2 separate regions of the Homo sapiens genome follow, and region 2 is linked to region 1. Evidence: promoter capture Hi-C in 16 types of primary human blood cells and fetal thymus (Javierre and others, 2016). All regions are on one chromosome and are shown on one strand. The core of a region is centred on a gene start or on the middle of the fragment in contact, and the rest is flanking DNA. Distances in the headings are between cores, read along the strand shown. Region 1 holds the start of DNAJA1 (DnaJ heat shock protein family (Hsp40) member A1). Region 2 overlaps DCAF12 (DDB1 and CUL4 associated factor 12).

Region 1 (4,855 bases), core at 2,356-4,855:
AAAAAAGGTTGGGGGGCGGATTTCACATTAGTCAGGAAAAATAAGATTAGTGTTAGACAAACTAGTTTGCCATTTGGAGAAAAATAAAGATCAGTTACTTACAAATAATCCTCAGTCCTTACACCAAAATAACTTTCAGATGGAATAAAAAATTTAAGTTTAAAATGGAACAATGATTCCAGATGCAGTGGCAGGTGTCTGTAGTCCCAAGTACTGAAGAGGCTGAGGCAGGAGAATCACTTGAGCCTAGGAGTTCGAGGCCAGCCTGGGCAACACATCAAGGCTGTTAATTTAAAAAAAAAAAAAAAAAAGGGAAACAATGAAAGTACTAGACCTAACCTGTAAACCTGGGACAACAGATTTATATTTATAATGCTGGACTGATGAAGGGGAAGGTGGAGAGAAGAAAAAGGCCAAAAAGGAAGAGTCACAATTTATCTACATAAAAATTAAAATCTTTATATGGCCGAAAAATATATATATAGATACTAAGTAAAAAGCGAAGAATATACTAAAGAAAACAATTGTAACACATGACAGACTAATATCTACCCCTAAAAGGGCTATTATTAAAATAGTGGAATTACACCACAGAAAAATGGTAAAATAATATGAACAGTTGACAGGAGAGTCAGTAAACATTTAAAACATGGTTAAACTTACTAACAAAGAAACTCGAAACAATAAGATATCACTTTTTATCTCCAAGCTTAGCAAAGATTTAACAACAAAAGGCCCTCATATTGGCAAGGCCCACTCACACACTGCTGGAAGCAGTTACAAACCAGTATGGAAACTTATTTATTACAATTTTAAATCTACATTCATGTTGACTCAGCAATTTCAATTCTAGCTGTCCATCCAACAGAAATACTTGCATGAGTACTCAAAGCTGTATTTGCTAATTTCTCTGCAGCAGTTTGTAAAACACTGGAAATTGCTGAAATATTCATCAGTAGGGGAATAAATTACGGTGCCTACATACTACGCCATTAAAAATAACAAGGCAGATTAGTTATTTATCCTGGCATAGTAAGATGACAAAGTGAAAAGGGCAAGCTGTAAACAGCTTGTATAATGATCCCATTTCTGTACAAACGAAGACCACATACAAAGTTATTGCCAGTTTTTTTATTTTATTTTACGTAAGAATGCTTCTTAAAAGTGTTAACTTTTTTGTTAGTTTCGTTTTTAGACAGGGTATTGCTCTGTCGTCCAGGCTGAGGTTCAGTGGTGCAATCACCACTCACTGCAGCCTTGACCTCCCAGGTCCATCCTCCTGCCTCAGCCTCCCAAGTAGCTGGGAGTACAGGCCCACACCACCACACTAACTCTAATTTTTGTAGAAACGAGGTCTTATTATGTTGCTCAGGCTGGTCTCAAACTCCGGGACTCAAGGGATCCGCCTGCCTTGGCCTCCCAAAGTGCTGGGATTACAGGCTTGAGCCACCATGCACCCCCTACTCTTCCTTTATTAGCATTTAACACTCAACTGTTTGTTTCTGGTTCCCTATGTTGTGAGCTCCTTGAAGGCAGGGACCACGACTTATGTGATTTTTTTTTTTTTCTGAGACTCGACAGAGTCTTGCTCTGTCAACCAGGCTGGAGTATAGCGGCACCATCTCTGCTCACTGCAACCTCCGCCTCCCAGGTTCAAGCGATTCTCCTGCCACAGCCTCCTGAGAAGGTGGGACTACAGGCACGTGCCACCATACCTGGCTAATTGTTTCTATTTTTAGTAGAGAAGGGTTTCACCAAGTTGGCCAGGCTGGTCTAGAACTCCGGATCTCAGGTGATCCGCCACCTTGGCCTCCCAAAGTGCTGGGATTACAGGTGTGAGGCACGGCGCCCGGCCTGACTTACGTGATTTTTGTATTACAAAGCCCTAGTACACTGCCTGGTAATATTAGACGTTTATTAACGGTTGGTTTAAACAAAAAACTTTATACCAGAGGTGATACTTGAGAAGGCAACACCTAAGATTGAAAAAAATCAGGTGTCTGTCAGCCAATGCAAAAGCATACAAAGGTGAAAAGGCGTATATGGGAAACTGCGGATAGTTCTGTGACTGGAATGCACAGTTAAAATTAATGAAAGAGAAAAGGCTGAAGAGGCAGCATGAGGATGCTTCCAAGGATAAAGTTCAAAATTCTTAGCGTAGCATATATACCAACAGACAAAGGCATGCCCTAACTAGCTTTGAAGCCTCACCTCCGGCTATTCTAGCTCCCTTAGCTATGGCTATATCCAATTAGTTGCAATTTCCTAAAAACATCATATTCTTCCACACCTTAGTATAGCCTTCCCCTGTGCTTTGTCCACTGCTCTCCTCCCATTTTCAAAACTCAGCTCAATTGCCACTTTCCCAAAGAAATTCTCTCTGATCTATCAGGTTAATATAGGAGGCTCTCCCCTACTGACTTCTACCTCATGGTTTCTCTGGCAGTCTGTTGACTTGTTTGGCTTCTCACTAAAGTCTAACTGGGGCTTTTCAACTCTGCATCTCCAGTTCTGTTTTTGTTTTAAATCGAGACGGGGTTTCACCATGTTGCTTGGGCTGGTATCAAACTTCTGAGCTCACGCAATCAGCCCACGCTGGCGTCCCAAAGTGCTGGGATTACACACGTGAGCCACCGAGCGTGGCAAACTCCATCTTTCTTGGTGCTAGATACTGACATACCTGCTGTGTCCCTGGATAAAGAAGCGGACCCCAATTCCCATTAAGCCCCCGTGGTACCATTTTCAAGTCCGAGGTCTTACGTTGCAGATTGTACATCCAGGTTCCCTGACCCGTAGGATTTAAAAGTGAGGTCAAATAATTAAACAAATTGTTTTAGTCAGACACTCTTGCGGCTACTCTGTAGCCAAACTGGGTGAAAACCTGACCAGAGGAGTCCACGGCCCTCTGTACATCAAAGACGGTCCAAACGTCTCACTGTTTAGCTCAGTCCCAGACACACTGAGCTCAATCTGCACGAATCAGCGAGGTCCAGGGCAGATAACATGTGTCTAGGGGCCTGGACTTGCACAAAAAGCCTTAACAACTTCACAATTTGATTAATTATGCCGCCTTGGACCACGCGTGAAAAACAGCAAGACCCAAGGCCTATGCTATTGGTCTGGGGACTAGACCCACCTGGCTCAAGCATTTTTTGCTCGCCACGTTCCCAAAAAGAGAAGAGGCGCCCGTAAGAGGGGGGGGGGGGGGGGCAAGACTGTTCCAAGAGCTTTCCCGTTCACACACAGCTCCCGCTGGGTCACTGTACTCGAGCCCTTCCCGCCCTCGCGGGCCCAGGCGGCCACCCCACAGGTTTGGGAACCCTAGGACTTGCAGTGCTCCTGGGCCATGCCCCACCAGCCGGAGACTTCCGCACTCTCAGGCTCGCTGAGTGGAGAAAAGGGCTCCAGAAGATTCCACGAGCGCCGGGAAGCCGCGCTAGCACCAACACCCACAAGGCCTTTCGGCGCAGCTCCTCCCGACCCGTGCGCCCCCGCGCCGTTGCCCAGGTAACGGCGGGGCGGTGGCAGCGGCCGAGAAGGGCGGGACTTCCGGCGGGTGACGCGCCCGGGTTCGGCTACAAAAGAGGACGGCTGCGGCGCGCCGGGCGGAACTTTCCAGAACGCTCGGTGAGAGGCGGAGGAGCGGTAACTACCCCGGCTGCGCACAGCTCGGCGCTCCTTCCCGCTCCCTCACACACCGGCCTCAGCCCGCACCGGTGAGTTTGAGCCCTCGCGCTGCCCCTAGTCCCCTGGCTGGCGCCATTGGCGCCGGGAAACCGATGGAGCCGCGGTCGGGAGGCAGTTGGCCGCGTGGGTAGGACCGCTGTCAGTTCCTGGGCCCACGATTTCCCTTTTGGAGGGCTGGTGTGGTGCCCTGGCAACCCATCCCCGGCACGCACAGTGAATGGGCCCGAGACCTTTCCTAGACCTCCCTCCTTCCCCAGCCTGGGATCTCCAAGGAGCTACTGTCTTCGGCTGCCCCTCCGTGCGCGCCCCCGCGGCCCCCCTCCCCGTCCGTGCTCGCTCGGGGTGGGGGGGGGGAGTGGGGTTGGCGACCCTGCGCACGCGCACAGGGAGGCAGGGGCGAGGGGCTGCGGGGGGAGCCGGGCGGAGACTGCGGCTTTTGGTTTCGCTTTCTCTGTTTCCCCTCCCTTTGTTTGTTGAGGGCTGGGCTTTCCCCACCGCCACTTGGGTCCAGGGTGGGAGGGAGAAAGGAAGGAAATCGGTCAGCGCCAAGTGCAAGGGGAAACCTGGCAGGTAAACTCTGCCAGCCTGAGGGGCGAGAGGGATTCGGCTGGAGAAGCTGTAAGCCGTGGGCGGTGGAGGGCTTGCTGTGTGGAGCCAGTAACCTGTTCTATAAACCACTCCCCCCCACCACTGTGTGCCCAGACGTCTTTTTCTGGAGAGTATATGGAGTTTATCAGATTTGCCAAAGACAGTGATAGTGTAATGACCGGTAGACTGAACATATCAGTGCTTCTTTTGGTTACAACTGTCACCGCCTCTAGGGCAAACGGGAAGAATCCAGATAATAGTTGTGTTATATTAGTATGGAAGCTTTGGTGTAGGAAAATTGGAACCAGCTGCTAGAAGGCGGCTCTCAGATTATTTCCCGATAATGATTATTTGTTTTGTCTGTTCGAGTTTATAGCTGAATTATCGCAGGAATTGTTACCTTTTTGGTGAAATTTAGGGAAGGTGGTGTTCTTATAATCGGATTTTGCAAAGAGATTGCTCGGCCTTAGCTCTCTTTTTTATTAAAAGCTACCAGTTGAAAGCCGGTTAAAGTTGCATTTTCTTATTTCAGGCAGTAGAAGATGGTGAAAGAAACAACTTACTACGATGTTTTGGGGGT
Region 2 (4,855 bases), core at 1,019-3,518, 1.1 Mb after region 1:
CTCCAGCCTGAGCAACAGAGCGAGACTCCATCTCAAAAAACAAACAAACAAACAAAAAAACCCAAGAACACTGACTAAACCACAAAAAGATCAAACATCCCCTTAACCTGGCTAATATAAATGACTGTTTCATCTTTATCAATTACAGCTTTAACCTCCTGCTAGATAAGATTAAGATACCCAAACATAGAATTTGCCCGTCGTGACAGTATCCATCTGGAGCAAAGTGCTATATCCTTAAGCCGTCCCCCAAATCACGTGCAACAAGTCCCAGTGTTGTAACTCCTTTCCAGCACTCTTACCGAGAGGTCCCTCGCTCTCTTATGGTGAAGGTTCTCCTAGGTACAACAAGCAACTATATCTGACTTGTTCTGCTACAAGAACAGTCCCTGGTAGTCTTTGACTGGAGAGTGCTGACAATGGGAAATAAGAGTTCACGTCCAAAATTAAATACCTCCAACTGTGTAGATCATCACTCTGCCGATTGCCATCCTTCTCCTCAAATCACACCCCACCCCCAGCCCCTTCAAGAGCCCTCTTTTCGGCCAGGCGCGGTGGCTCATGCCTGTAATCCCAGCACTTTGGGAGGCCAAGGCAGGCGGATCACGAGGTCAGAAGATCGAGACCATCCTGGCCAACACGGTGAAACCCTATCTCTACTAAAAATACAAAAATTAGCTGGGTGTGGTGGCAGGTACCTGTAATCCCAGCTACTCAGGAGGCTGAGGCGGGAGAATCGATTGAACCCAGGAGGCAGAGGTTGCAGTGAGCTGAGATCGCGCCACTGCACTCCAGCCTGGTGACATAGCGAGACTCTGTCTCAAAAAAACCAAAAAAGCAAACAAACAAAAATAAAGTCCTCCTTTCTTGAATTCTTTTCTGTATTCTCCCGGTTTTCCTGAGTTCCCTGCTCCCCCGCAGCAGTTCTTCTTGCCCTGTAAATGTACATGTTTTCCAAGGTTCTCTCCTTAGCTTATCTGTCAGTATCAGTGGTTCTTAACCATTTTTGGCTCATAGTACTCTCTTTCAAAATCTAAGGACAAAAACTAAGAACGACTTCCCACACCACCCCCCCAAAATCTTGCCCAGAAAGTACACATATAATCAAAACTTTGCAATTTTAGGGAAAGTTTACACAACTCAAGCCAGGAATGCCTGCTCTCTACTGTCTTTCCCATGATAATGTAACAATTTCAATAATTCCTTCTACATAAATGACTGCCAAATCATTAACTTCAATCCTTACTCTCTGCCAAGCTTCAACTAATTGATGAAAAGGACAAAACCCAAATCTGTTCCTTAACATTCACCCTGCCATCTTTCCAGTTATATAGGTTCAAGACATTAGTATCAATTTTTTTTTTTTTTTTTTTTTGAGACGGAGTCTCACTCTGTTGCCCAGGCTGGAGTAGAATGGCACAATCTCAGCTCACTACAACCTCCGCCTCCCGGGTTCAAGCAATTCTCCTGCCTCAGCCTTCCGAGTAGCTGGGATTACAGGCACCCACCATCATGCCCAGCTAATTTGTTTGTACTTCTGTAGAAACAGGGTTTCACCATGTTGGCCAGGCTGGTCTCGAACTCCTGACCTCAGGTGATCCGCCCGCCTTGGCCTTCCAAAGTGCTGGGATTACAGGTGTGAGCCACCTTGCCCTGCGAAAGAAAATCTTTTTAACACTAGGCTCAAATTCCTACACGGCAACAGTTGGTTAAAGTCAAGAATGCCTTCTGTAGTTCTTTGCAGCCCCTACTACTCCTTACTGTCTTGCGCCTAGCAAACTTTTCTTCACTTAGCTTTTCTGTCTGGCTCCGCAGCCAATCTGAATTTGCGTAAGTCTAAACCATGAACATATACCTAACCCATCCCAGCTGCCAGATCCATGTTCTAATTAAGGTTATACCACCTCTACTTAAGCAGTTGAGTAAAAATATGACTTTATTGTTATTAATGATAAAAACAACAGTGGCTATCCTTGCTGTTACTGCTGTGCTAGCTGGGGCCAAGAAATCTGGGGATTGAATGACTACCCTAGTTTGATTGTTAGCCCACAGCACAGGGACATTCTACATCAAAACTTTCCTATTGAGAATACAACATAATCTCTCCCACCTCTGAAATCTTCACACATTATCCAAAGACAATTCCAATTTTTAAATAATTTTCCTCTCTTCAAATTGTGGGAAAAGGTTATGGAAATCATTTTTACCGCTACTAGTACTTTTAAATAAGTAAGATATTGCTCACTCAGAATATTTCCCAGATGCATGCAGACACCTTAGCACCAGATATTATCACTCCCATTTTGCAGATGCAAAAACAAAAGCACAAATAAGGGAATCATTTGCCCAATGTCACAAAGTTCAGAGAAGAGCACTATTCCTAGTTCCCTGCTTTGGTTCTGGAAGCTAAGCAAAAACAAACAAATACTAACTATAAAATGAAAACAGCTCCCCTTGCCCCAAACACTAGGTTATGAGGATTAGGAAGACAGAAAGAGGTAGGAATTAAGAGTAGGTTAAATTATTACTTATTATGCTCGCCTTCAAAATAGTGTCAATAAATTCAACAAGCAAGAGGCTATGATGATTAATTCAGTTTACAATTCAGTAATATTTGCTAGGCTAAACACTATGATGCACGTGCGGGGAGTGGAATGAACTCTTCCAAGCAGGAGACTCTTTTTCTACTCCAAGTGACAAGGATGACAGTTCTTAACCACGAGTGGGCAGCTGGAGAGACCAAGAAAAGGAAGTTCTGTGGAGGCCCGTTGCCACCACTTAGTTTTGAAAGGCTTCTGGGTAAGACAAGCGACTCCTCAACAGAAGAGGAAACGAAAGGTTGGCCCCAACCACCATGGTATTATTTCCTTCCTCAAAACTGTTTAAATTTTTGCCTATGTCCTTTATAAACAGACCAACCACCATGGTATTATTTCCTTCCTTAAAACTGTTTAAATTTTTGCCTATGTCCTTTATAAACAGACACTTCTCCTAGTACTTAAGACTTTCTTGATCTAGAGCAATCTTCTCTCTTTTAATGATCCAAAATGTGTTTCATTCCAGGGTCAATTTACTCACACATTATGACATTACTTGTCCATTCACACAGGGGAGGTGAAAACCGAGGGAGGGCTGGGCGTAATCATTTCCCACCCCTAGGCCCTAGGCCCTGCCTCTTTTCATTTGCCAGTCTTGTGACATCATGCTATTCGTGGACTCTATTCCAAACGTTTCTGCTCTTTGACTTATTTTATCCTGGCCTATAATTGGGTTGGTTACAAAGCTTACTGAGAAATTTTTCACTTCATTCATTTATAACTGTCTTTCTATTCACTCTTAAAAAGGCTACTTTCCAAAGAGCTAATGCTTATACCCTGAAATATACTACCAGACACACATTCCCTGCCTTCCTTATAGGAAACAGTTCATGTATTTCTCATATTTCAGTTTATACATTTTTAGATTCTGTTCACTAAAAAACAGCCAAGTGTGCTATTTTAAATACTTCGACATACGTTCTTAGGCTGTTTTCACTATTATGTATCCTGAATGATGCTCTAAGCATCATTATTTCTTAAATCTTTCCTTTGAGGCCTATGACTTAAAAACCAGCATAAAAATATGAGGCAAAAACAAACAAACAAACAAACAACCCTCTAGAAGCAGCACATCCAGAGAGGGCCTGAAGAAATACACTCCTTTGAGGACTTATCAGAAAAGAAATGTATGAGTGAAAAAAGGAACACGAAAAGAGGAAGAAGTCACCAACGGGAAAGAATGGAAAGGAGAGTAAGGCAAGTCCCTCCTAAAAGAAACAGACGGGAAAACTAGCAGAGGTTCTAGAGCAAGTGGAGCAATATATCCACGACCTAGGAGAGAGGTCACATCCCCCCAGGCACTTACCGTGTTGCATTTTGTGCCACACACCACTTGCCTATGATTCAACCACTGAGATGCAAACACTTTATTAAGGGTCCCAAGGTGAAACTCTCTCTCCTTCAGGAGACTGGGAAGTTGCTGTGCTGCATAACCATGCAACACTCGAGAGTAGCTGGTTTCATTCTGTAGCCTGACTTCCCGGTTCTTCAAGTAGTATACTAAGGATCTCTTCACAGGAGGAAGTCTTTTCCTTTTGTGAAGCGAGTGATCCCAGCCAAACTGTGGAAACAACATTAGAAATCAGGGCTTTGGCTACTCTTCTTCAGAACAGATCCTACTGTATTACAGAAATCACCAACTCATAACTCATACTGCAGAATTTACAAACAACACAAATACAAACACAAGAGAACAAGAATCTCAATCCAGAAAGTCGTTTAACTCTTCCAACATTAAAAAGATGTTGCTCACAGTCAAACTTACCAATGTGAATTACAAGGGCTGAAAGTCAAGGGAATGAATGCAGAATAGAACAGACTAAAAGGTTTACTAGACATTTTAGGAGTGAAAGATTGAAGGAAATGAGAGGTAGAGTGATTCCCATACCGACATGGGCTGCATCTCTACCCAGCCCCCTTCTCCCTCTCAGTCTGTACTCCCACTGGAGCACGGAAGATACAGTCCAAGGAGCCAGACCTGGCTCCCAGGTCTTCCAGGGATGCATCATCAATGACCGTTCCTCTGTCATCATGCCCGCGCTCCAGGCAGTTGCAGAATTCGAAAAATCAACCGCCAACGGGGTAGTAGGCCCCCGGGAAATCAGAGGCCATATCTATGTCCAAGAAGGCCTTCCCCTCCAAAGGGGGCGGCATAGAGATGATACCTGGGAACTGTTGTTTCTTTTGGGGTCCAAACGCCGAAAGGCCCAGCTCAGGGTTGGGTATACATATAGGGAGACTACTTCCTTCTTCCAGGA

What was found. Contacts are between HindIII fragments. The CHiCAGO score rates a contact against its expected background, and 5 or more counts as called.
Region 2: a fragment that was not itself captured here is called in contact with the fragment with the promoter of DNAJA1 in region 1 in 1 of 17 cell types (fetal thymus); the score reaches 6.9 in fetal thymus.

The regions. Positions count from the first base shown.
Region 1 is chr9:33,021,668-33,026,522 of GRCh38, forward strand. It overlaps DNAJA1 (DnaJ heat shock protein family (Hsp40) member A1), which reads left to right and starts at 3,606. Exons shown (of 9, transcript NM_001539.4): 1 at 3,606-3,716; 2 at 4,808-4,855. The coding sequence starts at 4,818. It also overlaps a transcript of APTX not described here. RefSeq lists enhancers at 2,446-3,041, 3,364-3,658, 3,636-4,230, 4,187-4,256 and silencers at 3,517-3,666, 3,947-4,086. The HindIII fragment of the contact is 3,848 bases long and covers 708-4,555 here.
Region 2 is chr9:34,121,120-34,125,974 of GRCh38, forward strand. DCAF12 (DDB1 and CUL4 associated factor 12) reads right to left here. Exons shown (of 9, transcript NM_015397.4): 2 at 3,904-4,158. Among named protein-coding and RNA genes, the nearest start is that of DCAF12, 3.2 kb to the right of the region's middle. The HindIII fragment of the contact is 2,026 bases long and covers 1,256-3,281 here.